5 separate regions of the Homo sapiens genome follow, and regions 2, 3, 4 and 5 are each linked to region 1. The links are contacts of gene promoters, found by promoter capture Hi-C in blood cells and fetal thymus (Javierre and others, 2016). All regions are on one chromosome and are shown on one strand. The core of a region is centred on a gene start or on the middle of the fragment in contact, and the rest is flanking DNA. Distances in the headings are between cores, read along the strand shown.

Region 1 (2,922 bases), core at 123-2,622:
AAAATAAAGTTAGATGTGTGGGTGGCACTTAAACTTTTTTTTTAAACTTATAATGGGAATAATTAACATTTATTGTGCAAGTATTATGTGCTAAGCAGTCAACTGATAGGATTTATTACTGTCCTTTTCCACAGTCCCAAGAGATGGACACCATTAATTTTTACAAATAAGGAACAGACTCACAGAGTTTGAGAAACTTTGGGATCACTCAACTAGTAGGAGTTCAGTCCGGATTTAGAACAAGGGACTATCTGCTTTTAGAGCCCAAGACCTTAACATCTCATTCCTCAACTCATTAAATGCGGAAGGTTCACTAACCACGTGCAGGGCGGGGTGCTAGCCCCTGGGGATACAAAATGATCAAGAAAAGGACGCCATCATACTAAATCAGTAAAGGAAACAGATAAAGAAATCCTCATAAAACAGCGGATTGGGTGGGACGATAACAATCTGTGCTTGGTACAGAGGTAGCTCCTGGGAAGGGAAGAACTCAGACCCAGAAATCAGAAACGCAAACTGGCAGTGGCAGGCGAACCTGACGCCTGCAGGGCTGCGGCGAAACCGCGTATGCCACACCGAGGGAATGGCAGCTGGAAAGAGAGGCACGCGACAGGCCTAAGGAGACCCGTGGCACGTAGCAGCTGCCCCCGGAACAGCGCCTGGGGGCTCTGCAGGCGCTGACCAGTTTCCCGGAGGCGGCGGCCGCGGACCCAGCACGGTCACCGTCGCCGCTGCCGAGAAGAGCCGTCGGGTCGCGATGGGTGGACAGGCCTTCCGGGGGAGCGTCGCCCGGCACATACCCTGACAGTCCCGACCGCAGACGCCAGGGATGGGACAGGCTCCCGGGGAGCATCTCCTGTTCCTCCTCCCTGACCGGCCTTCTTAGGCGCTGGGGAGGGGCCGGACTCCCGAGAAGCGTCCACTCGGCCACCCTCCCCGGCAGGCCCGACTTCAGACGCCGCGCGCCGGGACAGAGCGCCCGGGGAGGGTCCCCAACGCAGATGCCCGGTTGCTGGGCGCGAGGGGCTCGGCCCCTGAAAAGGCCGCAGAACTGCGCTGGAAATGAATAAAAGCAGCCCGGTTTGAAACCAAGGCCGACGCAGGGCTTGGGAGGAGAGGCAAAGGAAAACCCTTACCTCATGATGGCAGCGCTCTGCAGGCCGTCCGGGCGGCGCAGTCCCTCGGATCGCTCTCTCCTCAGCACCGGGGACCGCGGGAAGCCGCGCGGTGGGCGTGCGCGTGCGCGTGCGCGCGCCAGGCCTCTGCAGCCCCTGGACTCGGCCGCGCGGCGTGTCTTTGTTAAAGGAGAGACCCCAGCCCCAGCAAGAACAGGAAACTGGAGATTGAATCAGATGCCGAGCGCTCAGAAACTGAAACTTAAGAAATCGAAACTAAACGTAAGCTTCAGAAACCGAAACTTAATAGAAGAGCTCAAGAGCCGCGGCCAGACGTTTGCGGAGTCCAGGGTCTTTCGGAGTTGAATTTGCAGCTGGGCTCCTTCACTTTGGTCTCGGCTTTTATCTGCCTCCCTGAGTACGCTGAGTTCGCATGCTGCCCGTGTAACTGTTTGTTTGTTTGTTTGTTTGTTTGAGATAGCGTCTCACTGTGTCACCCAGTCGTGATCTCAAGGGATGCGCCCGCCTCTGCCTCCCAAGGTGCTGGGATTACAGGCGGAAACTTAAGTCCCTGCTTCCACTCCAGTCTTTTGATTCAACAAGCAACACTGCAATGCTATACATCTATGCTGTTATTTCTGTTGGGTGTAAACTGAGAAATTTGGAGCTAAAATCTATATACATTTTAAGTTTTGACGGATATTGCCAAATAGCTTTAAAAATCCACTCTTACCCACAATTGTAGGAGACTGCTTCTCTTCCATACCTTCGCCAATGGTGCTTTGTAATAAGGACCCAATAAAGACAAGAGTGGTATTGGGGATCTAGGCAGAAAATGTCAAACACCCATACCTTAAACATTTTGTCCCCTTTGAATTCATTCAGCAAATATTGACAAACAACTGTAAGAGCCAGACTTTGTTCAAAGTACTGTCAATATAACAATAAAGAAAACAGACACGGGCCTTACCCTTATTGAGTTAATGTCTGTATTCAAAACCTCAATATCCTGTCCATAATTCATCTTTTGCATTGATTTTGGTTTTTTTTTTTTTTTTGAGACAGGGTCTCACTCTGTCACTCAGGTTGGAGTGCAGTGGTGAGATGACAGCTCACTGCAGCCTCAACCTTCATGGCTCAAGCGATCCTCCCACCTCAGCCTCCTGAGTGGCTGGGACTATATGCGTGCACCACTATGTCGGGCTAATTAATTTATTTTTTGTAGAGGCGGGGTTTTGCCATGTTGCCCAGGCTGGTCTCCAACACCTGGGCACAAATATTTTTCTAAACCTTAAATATTGTTCCGCCCATCGTGGCCTCCCAAAATGCTGGGATTACAGGCATGAGCCACTATGCTTGGCCTGATTTTGAATTTTTAAAAACATATTGCATTGAAATATTGTCTACCTTGATCACTGAGCTTCTGGCACCCCACCCCTCAAAACTTAGTGCCTGAAGCGAGTGCCTCATTTAAAGCAATCACTTCTAACAGTTGTACTGTCTTATACAGAAACTGCTGGTCACCTGTGGCTATTAAGAACCTGATTTTTAATTTAATATAAATTTAAAAACTGATAAGTTAATAGAAAACTTACATTTGGAATAACTTAGGTATACGAATCTGCTTTTTATAAGTTGCAAATTTTATGAACTCTAAATACAGAGCAAGTATTTCCAGTGATTATCCTCAGCAAACTAATGCAGGAACAGAAACCAAACACTGCATGTTCTCACTTGTAAGTGGGAGCTAAATGATGAGAACACACGGACACAGTGGGGAACAACACACACTGGGGCTTGTTGGAGT
Region 2 (2,922 bases), core at 161-2,660, 200 kb after region 1:
CAGTATAAGTGAGTAGAAGCGCCCACTTAAATGCGACATGTAAGTGGATCAGAATAGAAAGTGTTTAAAACCAAATATGCACCAGTATTTGGACTAATAGGAGCATCAGGAGAGTGTCTGGAGGAAGCTAACATCCCCATGTTCTTTATCAGCATCTCCTATTGTTTTTGGCACGGCTAATTAATGTTTTCTGAGTCTTTTGTAAAGTGTCACATAAAAGCAGCTTCAATGACCCCTTCCAATACCAAACTCCTCCTGAAGAGATACTTACCTTGGAACCAACCCTGGCCCTTTTCTGCTCAGTTTGGCTGTAACTTGCTTTTTATCCCTAGCTAGCCTTGTCTTGACTTTTCTGAGACTGAATTTTTAATCTTCAGTCTTTAAAATGAAGGATTAGATTTTGATATTCGAGATCATTCCACCTCTATGAGTCTTCCCTGTTACACAACACTACACATCTCTAATAGCCAGGAACAGTTTTGATTAAACAGATGCCCAAATGGCCTTACCTAATTTGAGAAAGAAAAAGAAATTCATAAAGGTCATTTAAAAAAGGGATTATGTGATTGATGGCAGGCTTTGCTAACTACATGTTCTATTTGCTGGGGGAAGGGGAGCAGCATCCACAGTCTTTTGGTAAGTTGGTGCCACATAACTTTGAGATTGTGATGAGTGTGCACAAACTTGACTGTTGTACTCTCAGAAAAGTGATTTGACCCCTGTGATAAGCAGAAAATAAAAGATTCCTGTCCTCCAACTCCGCCAGAAAAACCATACTAAGATAAAAACCATATGCAGGAAGCCATGATCAACTGGAGAAGAGATGGCGTGGCCAAAGTTCTAATGCTACCTGTCAGAAAACACCCCCTTTTGCGGAAAACCATCAATTGGACAAGAAATGGTGTGGCCAAAGTTCTAATCAGAAAACACCCCGTTTTAGGGAAAACCATCTTTACAGGTGGGTAGATCCAAACTACATCAAGCAGTACTCCAGAAAAAAAAAAAAGATTTGTTTTTTAGCCTCAATTTAGAGCTAATGTCCTTTAAAATGAATCTTGAGTCCACAAATATCTTTTGAACACTCATTACATACAAGATGCAATGCTTGGCACTGTGAGAAGAAGTCCTAGAAGATACACCCTGTGCTCTAAAAAGACCTATTCATCTAGCAAGCTATTACATTTTTGTGCAAATAAAAACTGTTTAAAGGTGCGCATGTGCCAAATTCAAGAAATGATACCACCTTAGTCAGCACTTGATAGTGTTCAATTTTATTTTGGTCCATTAAGTGATGCTGTTTTTGGTTACCTGACATATTGTTCAGCATTCCACATGATATAGAGTGGAGAACTAACAGGACTGTAATTCATCAATTTCCCTGGGATGGTTGCATTTGTATGTTAGACAAAAACTTCTGTCCTGGTCAGCTGCAAGTGCAGAGATGGCAGAGAAGCTAGTTGCTATCCTTCAAAGTGCCACAAAGTCACGGGGGAGAGTATGGACAAAGCAGGCTGAAGCCAGCGCTCTCAAGTTTTGCTGCCCACGGCCTTCTGTAATTGGCACATGGACATTATTCTAACAGCGATAGACGGTGGATACACCAAAGCAGAAAATGAATGGGTTGGTTGGGGCTGGGGACTCAAAGGAGACAGTCTTGACAGCAAATCTAGCAGCTAAATCCAAATTAAGCAAACCTGCTAATGCCACTCACTTAAAAAAAAAATCTTTCTTGCTCTCGCAACCAGAGCACCCAAGCATGATAACTGAGACCACAAGAAAAGGACAATGTGTGCTGAAAGGAAATTTGAGGGCTAACTTCTGTTGAGGGTAAATTTGAGTGATATTTTACTTATGAGCAGAAATCCAATTTTAATGTTGAGAAAGTGAGCTCTAATGGTCCGTTTGGAGCAGTGAGAAGGACGCTCTTCTCTGAAACACTGCATCAAGGACAAGACCACGTCTAGCCGGAATGAGAAGAAAAGTTTCTGGTTTACCCTAAAAGTGAAGTGAAAACAACACTGGGGAAGGGAGGAGATGTTGTGGGGGGTGGGGGCGCATGGGCGGTAGAGGTGGAGAGCCTTGGAAGGACAGGTTGTTTAACTGGAAGCAACTAGGGGCCTACATTATACCTATTTTCTGCTATCATCTAGAAATCAAAGCAGCAGCATTAGAAAAATTCACCCTTGTTCCCTTTTTGTATTGGCTGTCAAGAAACTCAACACTGCTTCTGAACCTTTATCTCATCAACAGCAAATATGTCAGCAGAATATAATAATGTTTTCATAGTACCCTGGGTTAAATAAAAAGGCTGCTGTAGGGCTAGAGGCTACTGCTGAGGGCTCCTGGGAATGAGCATCTAAGGAATGTCAGTATTCCATCAGTGGCAGTTAGTGGACACACACCAGTTAGGAGATTCTGAATTACAAATTGGCCTATTATATGTATCTATATCTTATATATTACATATTATGAATTGGCATATTATATATATCATATGTATGCATATATACCATATATGATCTTAGTTTTAGGCCCATATATTGGTCCATATTTTTGTAGTACTTGTTCTTTCCTCATAATAGATGGCGTTATATCTTTTATTTCTCTTTACATAATCTTACTTGATTTTAATTTCAAATTTCTCAGTTATTCTTTAGGTAACGTGTGGAGTACAAATTTAAAATACCATGCATATTACTTGGTGTGTTTGCTGTGTGCTAGGACCTATGATTTTACTGCTGTAAACCCACAGCAATAATAATAATCCTACTTCTTGGCAGGGTGAGGAAGCCAGCTTTTTTGAGGATTGGATAAAATCAATTCAGATAAAACATTTAGCCAATGCGTGGCACCTAGTAGGTGGGCTTTACACGGTAGACTTATTATTTTTCCATTTAATACTCCAATTTCCCTTTGTGGGGA
Region 3 (2,922 bases), core at 173-2,672, 180 kb after region 1:
ACTCCTCTTTGGTGTACATTAATTTTGCACAGCTGTAATTTAGAGTAGTCTATAATTTTGTATTTTGCTTTTTTTTCCTTTGCAAGGTATAAGCTTTTCTATGCTGTCACTGTCCTTGTCATGGTTGATGGATAATTATTATACCAAGTGGATTTCAATGAATTATTTGACCACTTGACAATTAGCTTATTTCCAGTTTTTCACTGTTATAAAGAATGAGCAGAGGGCAAAGGAAGCTCTCATTTGTTCACTGTGACCCGTGTGTCAGTCACTATACTGGATACTTACCTCACTTATTCCTCTTAACAATTATTTTTGGAACTGAGACGCAGACTGGTTAAGCAACTTAATAGTATGAGTTGATATATAGTGAACTCTTACTGTGTGTCAGACTCTTTGCTACCTACTTTTCATATAATATCTCATATCTCACTGTGTCCTATAAAATGTGTATTATCATTTCTACTCTTCAGGGAATTATATTAATTTTAGGAGATGTTTCCCCAAGGTGTCATGTTAGAACTTGGAGAGGACAGAGTTGAGCCTAGGTTTGTTTGAGCTGTCTAAAACTCATGATCGGGCTGGGCGTGGTGGCTCACACCTGTAAACCCCGCACTTTGGGAAGCCGAGGTGGGTGGATCGCTTGAGTCCAGGAGTTTGAGACCAGCCTGGGAACATGGTGAAACACTGTCTCTACAAAAAACACAAAAATTAGCTGGGTGTGTTGGTGCACGCCTGAAATCCCAACTACTCAGGAGGTTGAGATGGAAGGATCACTTGAGCCCAGAAGGTGGAGGTTGCTGTGAGCAGAGATCACGCCACTGCACTCCATCCTGGGTCACAGAGCAACATCCTATCTCAATCAATCAATCAATCAAATAAGTGGATAAAACTCATGGTCAGTATAATGTCAGCTCCATGGAGGTACTTTTTTTCCTCTTGTTTTTGTTCTCTGCTGTGTTCTCAGTGCTGAGAAGAAGGCCTGGCACATAGTTGGTACTCAATAAAGGCTTGTTTCATGAATAACTGAATGGTCTCAGCGTTAGGTAAGCAGCTTGAGGTCAGGTTTCTTTGGCTCCCACATCTTTGTTTTTTCTGCTATATCACTGTCTCGGGTACAGGTGAGTAGAAAATAAATTCTCACAGGCAGACACAGACACATATATTTATGAATTTGTGTGTGTGAGCCTTTTTATCTATTTAACTTTTATTCAGCTTTAAAAATTTTTATTAAATTTTATTTTTTAAAGCAGTTTTAAGTTCATAGCAAAATTGAGTGGAAGGTACAGAGATTTCCCATACACCCTCTGCCCCCACACTCCCCTGTTATGAACATCCCTCACAGAGTGGAATTGTAATTGTTACAGCTGATGAACCTACATTCACACAAAGTCCGTAGTTTACATTAGGGTTCCCTTTTTTTTTTTTTTTTGAGACTGAGTCTCCCTCTGTCCCCTAGGCTGGAGTGCAGCAGTGCAATCTTGGCTCACTGCAACCTCTGCCTCCCGGGTTCAAGCAATTCTCCTGCCTCAGCTTCCTGAATAGCTGGGATTACAGGTGTGGGGCACCACACCCAGCTACCTTTTTTGTATTTTTAGTAGAGACAGGGTTTCGCCATGTTGGCCAGGCTAGTCTCGAACTACTGACCTCAAGTGATCCACTCGCCTCAGCCTCCCAAAGTGCTGGGATTGCAGGCATGAACCACCACACCCGGCCACTACAGTTCACTCTTGATGTTGTATATTCTATAGTTTTGGACAAATGTATGATGGCATGTGTCTACCTCTATAGTATCATGCAGAGTAGTCTTACTGCCCTGAAAAATCCTCTTTACTCTGTCTATGAATTCCTTCCTCCCTCCTAACCCCTGGCAACCAGGATCTTTTTTACTCTCTCTATAGTTTTGTCTTTTCCAGCATGTCATATAGAATGCAGCCTTTACAGATCTTGGTAATATGTATTTAAGGTTCCTCTACATCTTTTTGTGGCTTGATAGCTCATTTCCTTTTAGGGCTGAGTAATACTCCATTGTCTGGATGTAGCACAGTTTAGTTATGCATTCATTTACTGGAGCACATCTTGGTTGCTTCTAAATTTTGGCAATTATGAGTAAAACTACTATAGACATCTGTATGCAGGTTTTTGTGTAGATGTAAGTTTTCAACTCCTTTGGGTAAAATACCAAGGAATGTGATTGCTGGATTATATGGTAAGAGTATGTTTAGTTTTGTAAGAAACTGCCAAACTTTTCCAGTGTGGTGCTACCAGTTTGCATTTCCACCAGCAATGAATGAGAGTTCCTGTTCCTCCACATCCTCTTCAGCAGTTGGTGTTTTCAGCGTTTTTGGATGTTGCTCATTCTGATACGTGTATAGTGATGTCTCATTATGTGTGATCTTTTTCTTTCCTTTTGTTTATTTTGTTAGGAATTATTGTGAGAAATGCAATTACGAAAGCAAATTGTAAAAACATTTTATAAGAAAAAAATTGTAAAAACATTTTATAATTTCTTAAAAATATATTGATTTTTGTTTTTGCTGCTTACATAAGTGTGTCTTGTTAGTGGACATGCAAAAAATGGTCCAGTTTCACTGCTACCTTGCCAGTGCTGTTTTAAAAAAATTCTTTACTAACATTATATGTGAGTACATCACTATGTCAATCTTTCAATTTATTTCTAGTTCATTATTTGCTTATGGATCTTTTACGAATGTTCTATTTAGCAAGATATCATATTTGTTTTGAAGCTTGGTGCTACTGCCTCCTAAACAATGAATGTTTTTCAGGTCCCAAACCAGTTGTCTTCCTGCAACATGGCTTGCTGGCAGATTCTAGTAACTGGGTCACAAACCTTGCCAACAGCAGCCTGGGCTTCATTCTTGCTGATGCTGGTTTTGACGTGTGGATGGGCAACAGCAGAGG
Region 4 (2,922 bases), core at 187-2,686, 160 kb before region 1:
TAGAATTAGAAGTGGAACCTGAAGAGATGACTGAATTTCTGCAGTCTCATGATAGAACTTGAAAGGATGAGGAGTTGCTTCTCACGGACAAGCAAAGAAAGTGGTTTCTCGAGATGGAATCTACCCCTGGTGAAGACACTGTAAACATTGTTGAAATGACAACAAAGGATTTAGAATATTGCATAAATTCAGGTGATAAAGCATCGGCAGGGTTGGAAAGGATTGACCTCAATTTTGAAAGTCCTGTTGTGGGTAAAATGCCATCACATGACATCACATGCTGCAGATAAATCTTTTGTGAAAGAAAGAGTCAACAAATGTGGCAAACTTCATTTTTGTCCTATTTTAAGAAATTGCCACAACCTTCAGCAACCACCACCTTGATGTCAGCAGCCAAATACATTGAGATGAGACCCTCTACCAGCAAATAATTAGTACTGGCTAAAGGCTCAGATGATTATTAGCATTTTTTGGCAGTAAAGTATTTTTGAAATTAAGGTATCTATATTTTTTAACACAATGCTATTGCAAACTTAACAGACTATAGTATATTCTAAACATAACATGTACATCTGCTGGGAAACAAATTCATGTGACTTGATTGCCTGGGTCTGAAAACAAAGTTGCAATTTCTCCAACATATGCCTATATATTAATGAAATATATAAAAAGCAATGTAAATTAGAAGACTGAAAAGAACCATTGGAATATAGCACAAAACTGAAATTATATATGTTAATTGGATGTTTTTTTTTTGACCTGTGTGGTATTATTTTCAATTTTGTAAAATATTCCACTTGTTACTTTTGCTTTTCCACTAGTTTTTTTCCTTGTACATTTCTTGAATTATGACATTTCTGGAATCAACCACTAAGCACATTTAGTCAAACGTGTGTGGCCCACAGTTGGTGTGGTTAATACTAAGGGCACTGTGACATAAATTCAAGTAGCCTCAATACCATTTGCGTAATTTGTTTTAACAGATGGATTTTCTTTTTAAATTTTTTGCAGTTATGGCTTAAGGAGAGTTTAAAATTTTCTTTTAGGCTATAAGGCAACCAGAAAGAATTAGACAGTTTTTGTATTGGATTGTTCTTCTCTTTTCTCTTCCACTTCACTTTGTTCATGAAATTTGCTGTTGCTATTTTAGCAAAGTTCAACATCTAAAGAATTTATGCCATTTGGCTGCCATGACACAGATATAAATTATGTTTGTTTTACCACATTCCATAGTGAGGTAGGTGGTGTATGTCTTCTCATATATCTTGAAAATATATGTAAAATTTAATTTTAAAGACAACTTAAACTTTAAAATAATTATTTTTCATTAACTACTCAAGCTTATTTATCCTGACATATGAAATATATTTTCATGATATATTCTTAAACTTTTCTAGCATTCATATTCTCTATGCATATTTGGATGTGTACGTGTTTTTGGCATATTGGGGAAGAGATAGTTAATCCTGCAAGTTGTGGATCTAGAGTTTGTATTAAAATTATTATTTAGGAAGAGTACATTTTTAAGCTTAATATTTGAACAGTTTGTCAAATGTCACTTTATTTTAAATATAAGCCAAAAGTATTTTTGAATTAAGCTCCATAAGTGGGTTGAAATTTGGTAAATTAAACATTATTGTGAATTTTAAACATTTTTAGGCATTCTCCTTTGAGATTTGTTTACTATTTATATTGGCTTTATACATTTTAAAATGAGCAGTCACTTTTCTGTCTGTCTGTTCATGTGCCAACATCAACATTGAATTTATCAAGTAGTTATTTATACAATGTTTAGACAGGCAAAATGAAATGGAGAAGTGGGGCAATTATCTGTAGATCCCACCCACACAACTTTCAGCAACTCTAGAGAAAATGGTGTGGTTGTCCAGAACAATTGAGTTTTGTTGGCTGTGCCCTGAACATTTAGTCAATTACACAATTCTTCGTGTCCTTTAGCCTGTGTTTCTACAGTCCCTGTCTGACCTCAGCTGCTCATGGTAGTCTTCTGTGGTCCTTAATTAACTATGAAGATTATCTCAGCAAAATCAAGCTGTAGGGGTCTTTGTCCATGGAATGTTAAGGACCATTTCATCTATGGCATAATCCATTTTAATGGCCATAGAGAGAGATTTTATGAAGATATAGCCACACTTAGAAATTAACTGCCTGGCGCGGTGGCTCACGCCTGTAATCCCAGCACTTTGGGAGGCCGAGGCGGGAGGATCACGAGGTCGGGAGATTGAGACCATCCTGGCTAACACGGTGAAACCCCATCTCTAACTAAAAATACAAAAAAAAATTAGCCAGGTGTGGTGGCGGGTGCCTGTAGTCCCAGCTACTCAGGAGGCTGAGACAGGAGAATGGCGTGAACCCAGGAGCAGTGAGCTGAGATCGCACCACTGCACTCCAGCCTGGGTGACAGAGCAAGACTCCGTCTCAGAAAAAAGAAAAAAAAGAAAAAGAAATGAGAAATTAACACTTTAAAAAAGGTATATAGTGTTAGGATTTGAAGTTTTAAAATAAAACACCATGGCATGCATAGTTTTTGGAAGCCAAACAAATTCTAAATACACTGGTATTCAAACTTTTAAGATGTAGAGATTTAGTAATTCATTAGTATTAATTATTGAATAATTGCTACTTATGTTTTAGTGTCAGTTTTTATTCATTGATCCAGTCCTGCAGAAGAGACTTTGGAAGCATTAACTGCATCTTGCATTTCAACTCAGGAGAAGTTCATTTTAATTACTAAGGAGTAGTTGCAAAATAGGTTCAAGGCCACTCCCAAAATAAACCTACCAAGTTTGAGAAGTGAAAATTACACTTTTTGCTATTATTCTAATTTTTAAACTTCTAAATAAATGTTGAACAACTATTTGGAGAATATCAGTAAAAAAGGTGCCAAATTATTAACCTGCATTG
Region 5 (2,922 bases), core at 129-2,628, 140 kb after region 1:
ACTGTGCTGTAAAAGTAGTGTAAAAGCAGTCATAGACAATACAAATTCCAATAAAACTTTATTTACAAAAACAGGTGGCAGACTGGTTTCAGCCCACGAGCTGTAGTGTGTTAACCTTTGCTCTCTGGCCCTATGAATTCTTCATGTTCACAGAGCATCTTGAAGAAATGAGGCCCAATAAAATACCTGGTTTTATTTCAAATCTGCCTTCTTGCTGTAAATGACCTACAGCTCAGGAATATCTCAATGAATACCCACACATGTTATCTGTCTTTACATCGGCTAAAACCTTTGACTAGATTATGAGTACTGTCCTGTCAGTTGTGATTCTTCTTTCCCTAGCAGGCTCCTCACAGCTCCCCAATTCACAATATTTTTCTCAGCACAACACTTTCCAGGGTGTCAAAATGTTCTTAACCATCAGCTCTGTTTTCTCAGAGCCTTTGTTGATGCTTTACAGAAGCCTAGGTAAATTGGGTTCCAGTGCTCCTGGTCTCCTGAGCTCCTGCTACATTGACACTGTGTTTATGCCACTTGTGTTGATCCAGATGTGATATTAACTTCCCAGTACCCCCAAAACAGTCACACATAGTGCCACAAATGCTTCCTCTGGCTCATCCAGCAACCCCTACCTCTGACTCCATTTCCATTTTTCCAGAGGACACTCAGCTCATCCTCTCATCTTCCTCCTATAATGAGGGACAATATGTTCTACTCTGACTCTAGAAAATGTATCAAGTTAATTTCTTTTACAAAAAACAAAGAGAAAAATAGAAAGGAATTCCTTATGCTTCCCTCCCCTCCACCAAAAGAGGAATTCTGATGTTAACTGTTTAGTCTTCATTTCTAAGACAGGGCACAAGGTTGTAGCTAGTGTTTATAACTTCTTTCTTTTACCTATCTTCAGAGTGACCAGACAACCTACAGAATGGGAGAAACTTTTTGCAATCTATGCAGCTGACAAAGGTCTAATATCCAGCATCTGTAAGGAACACATTTATAAGAAAAAAACAACTCCATTAAAAAGTGGGCAAAGGACATGAACAAACACTTCTCAAAAGAAGACATACATGCAGACAACAATCAAGTGAAAAAAGCTCAACATTACTGTTCATTAGAGAAATGCAAATTAAAACCACAATGAAATATCATCTCACGCCAGTCACAATGGCTGTTAATAAAACGTCCAAAAATAATAGATGCTGGCGAGGTTGTAGAGAGAAAGGAACACTTTTACACTGTTGGTGGGAGTGTAAATTAGTTCAGCCATTGTGGAAGACAGTGTGGTGATTCCCCAAAGACCTAAAGGCAGAAATACCATTCAACCCAACAATCCCATTACCGGGTATGTACCCAGAGGAGTATAAATCATTCTATTATAAAGACACATGCACGTATATGTTCATTGCAGCACTATTCACAATAGAAAAGACATGGAATCAACCTAAATGCCCCTATGATAGATTAGATAAAGAAAATGTTGTACACATACACTATGGAATACTACGCAGCAATAAAAAGGAATGTGATCATGTCTTTTGCAGGGACAAGGATGGAGCTGGAGGCCATTATCCTTAGCAAACTAACACAGGAACAGAAAACCAAATACCGCATGTTCTCACTTATAAGAGGGAGCTAAATGATGAGAACACATGGACACATAGAGGGGAACAATGCACATTGGAGCTTACTGGAGGGCAGGGGGTGGGAGGAGGGAGAGGATCAGGAAAAATAACTAATGGGTACTACGCTTAATACCTGGATGGTGAAAGAATCTGTACAATCAACCCCCATAACACACATTTACCTATGTAACAAACCTGAACATTGTGCATATGTGCCCCTGAGCTTAAAACAAAAGTTTTTTTTAAATTTTTTTTTTTTAAGACAGAGTCTCACTCTGTGTGCCCAGGCTGGAGTGCAGTGGTGCAATCTTGGCTCACTGCAGCCTCAGCCTACCAGGCACAAGTGATCCTCCCACTGCAGCCTCCTGAGTAGCTGAGACTACAGGTGCGTGACAATGTATCTGGTTAGTTTTTGTGGGTTTTTTTTTTTGTAGAGTTGGGGTTTTGATATGTTGTCCAGGCTGGTCTCAAACCCCTGAGGCTCAAATGATCTGCCGGCTTTGGCCTCCCAAACTGTTGGGATTACAAGCGTAAGCCACTGAGCCCAGCCTATGACTTCCTTCTTTTACCACCTGTTCCATATTACACTTGCCCTTGGCAAACACTGGTTCTTGTCATGACTCCTTATCTGGTGAGCTGTCCCATACCTTCATTCTTAAAGGGTCACTGCCATTAGCAGTCCTCACTGCATTGAATTGTTTTCATTTTAATATTGATTTCAGGATATGGAAATACAAAGAGGCACCCCAGAAGACCTCCTGCAAGCCACCATACTCCTCCTTACCCTCACTGTGTGGTAGCAACCCCATTTTCCCTTCATAGCCAGGATAAATCACCCATCAGAACAATAATCACCTTTTTTAAGCCTGCTGGTTAATTAGCATAAGGAGTACAAAGTGGCTGGGGACAGTTTTACTTTCCAGGTTAATGAAGCTACAAATCAATGTAAATCCATCACTCTGGTCATCTCTCCTTCTAGGAACAATGAACATCCAGGTGAACCGTTCAAAGCTCTTTCCACTGGGGGAATGTCCCATAACCACTGTCCTTCAGAATCATCCCTAAATGTGACAGGAGTACTGCATTGGCCATTTTTGGGTGATGCCAGTGTATTGTGCAGAACCATCTATAAAGTAGACCAAATAGTCTCTTCCTCAGTCAACTGGTCACATGGAACTCCCCATGAGAAGACAGATGAGAGAGAAGGGGCAATGTAGTATGAGTAGGGGTCACAGGAATCTTGCTCATGTGACTTGTGCCTTCAGGACCTACATAAGTCTAATTTCATTTACCACTT

What was found. Contacts are between HindIII fragments. The CHiCAGO score rates a contact against its expected background, and 5 or more counts as called.
Region 2: a fragment that was not itself captured here is called in contact with the fragment with the promoter of IFIT5 in region 1 in 1 of 17 cell types (neutrophils); the score reaches 7.5 in neutrophils.
Region 3: a contact is called between a fragment that was not itself captured here and the fragment with the promoter of IFIT5 in region 1, in 1 of 17 cell types (erythroblasts). The highest score is 5.7, in erythroblasts.
Region 4: a contact is called between a fragment that was not itself captured here and the fragment with the promoter of IFIT5 in region 1, in 4 of 17 cell types (megakaryocytes, M0 macrophages, M1 macrophages and 1 more). The highest score is 8.2, in megakaryocytes.
Region 5: a contact is called between a fragment that was not itself captured here and the fragment with the promoter of IFIT5 in region 1, in 5 of 17 cell types (erythroblasts, neutrophils, megakaryocytes and 2 more). The highest score is 7.2, in erythroblasts.

What each region holds. Positions count from the first base shown.
Region 1 is chr10:89,413,018-89,415,939 of GRCh38, reverse strand. It overlaps IFIT5 (interferon induced protein with tetratricopeptide repeats 5), which reads right to left and starts at 1,372. Exons shown (of 2, transcript NM_012420.3): 1 at 1,137-1,372. The coding sequence starts at 1,141. It also overlaps a transcript of LIPA not described here. RefSeq lists enhancers at 326-395, 496-595, 1,206-1,515. The HindIII fragment of the contact is 3,334 bases long and covers 1-1,404 here.
Region 2 is chr10:89,208,743-89,211,664 of GRCh38, reverse strand. No RefSeq gene overlaps it. Among named protein-coding and RNA genes, the nearest start is that of CH25H, 2.9 kb to the right of the region's middle. The HindIII fragment of the contact is 3,077 bases long and covers 1-2,922 here.
Region 3 is chr10:89,228,263-89,231,184 of GRCh38, reverse strand. It overlaps LIPA (lipase A, lysosomal acid type), which reads left to right. Exons shown (of 10, transcript NM_000235.4): 4 at 2,787-2,922. Among named protein-coding and RNA genes, the nearest start is that of LIPA, 22 kb to the left of the region's middle. The HindIII fragment of the contact is 2,654 bases long and covers 96-2,749 here.
Region 4 is chr10:89,573,509-89,576,430 of GRCh38, reverse strand. No RefSeq gene overlaps it. Among named protein-coding and RNA genes, the nearest start is that of MIR107, 18 kb to the left of the region's middle. The HindIII fragment of the contact is 188 bases long and covers 1,343-1,530 here.
Region 5 is chr10:89,271,033-89,273,954 of GRCh38, reverse strand. It overlaps a transcript of LIPA not described here. Among named protein-coding and RNA genes, the nearest start is that of LIPA, 21 kb to the right of the region's middle. The HindIII fragment of the contact is 5,893 bases long and covers 1-2,922 here.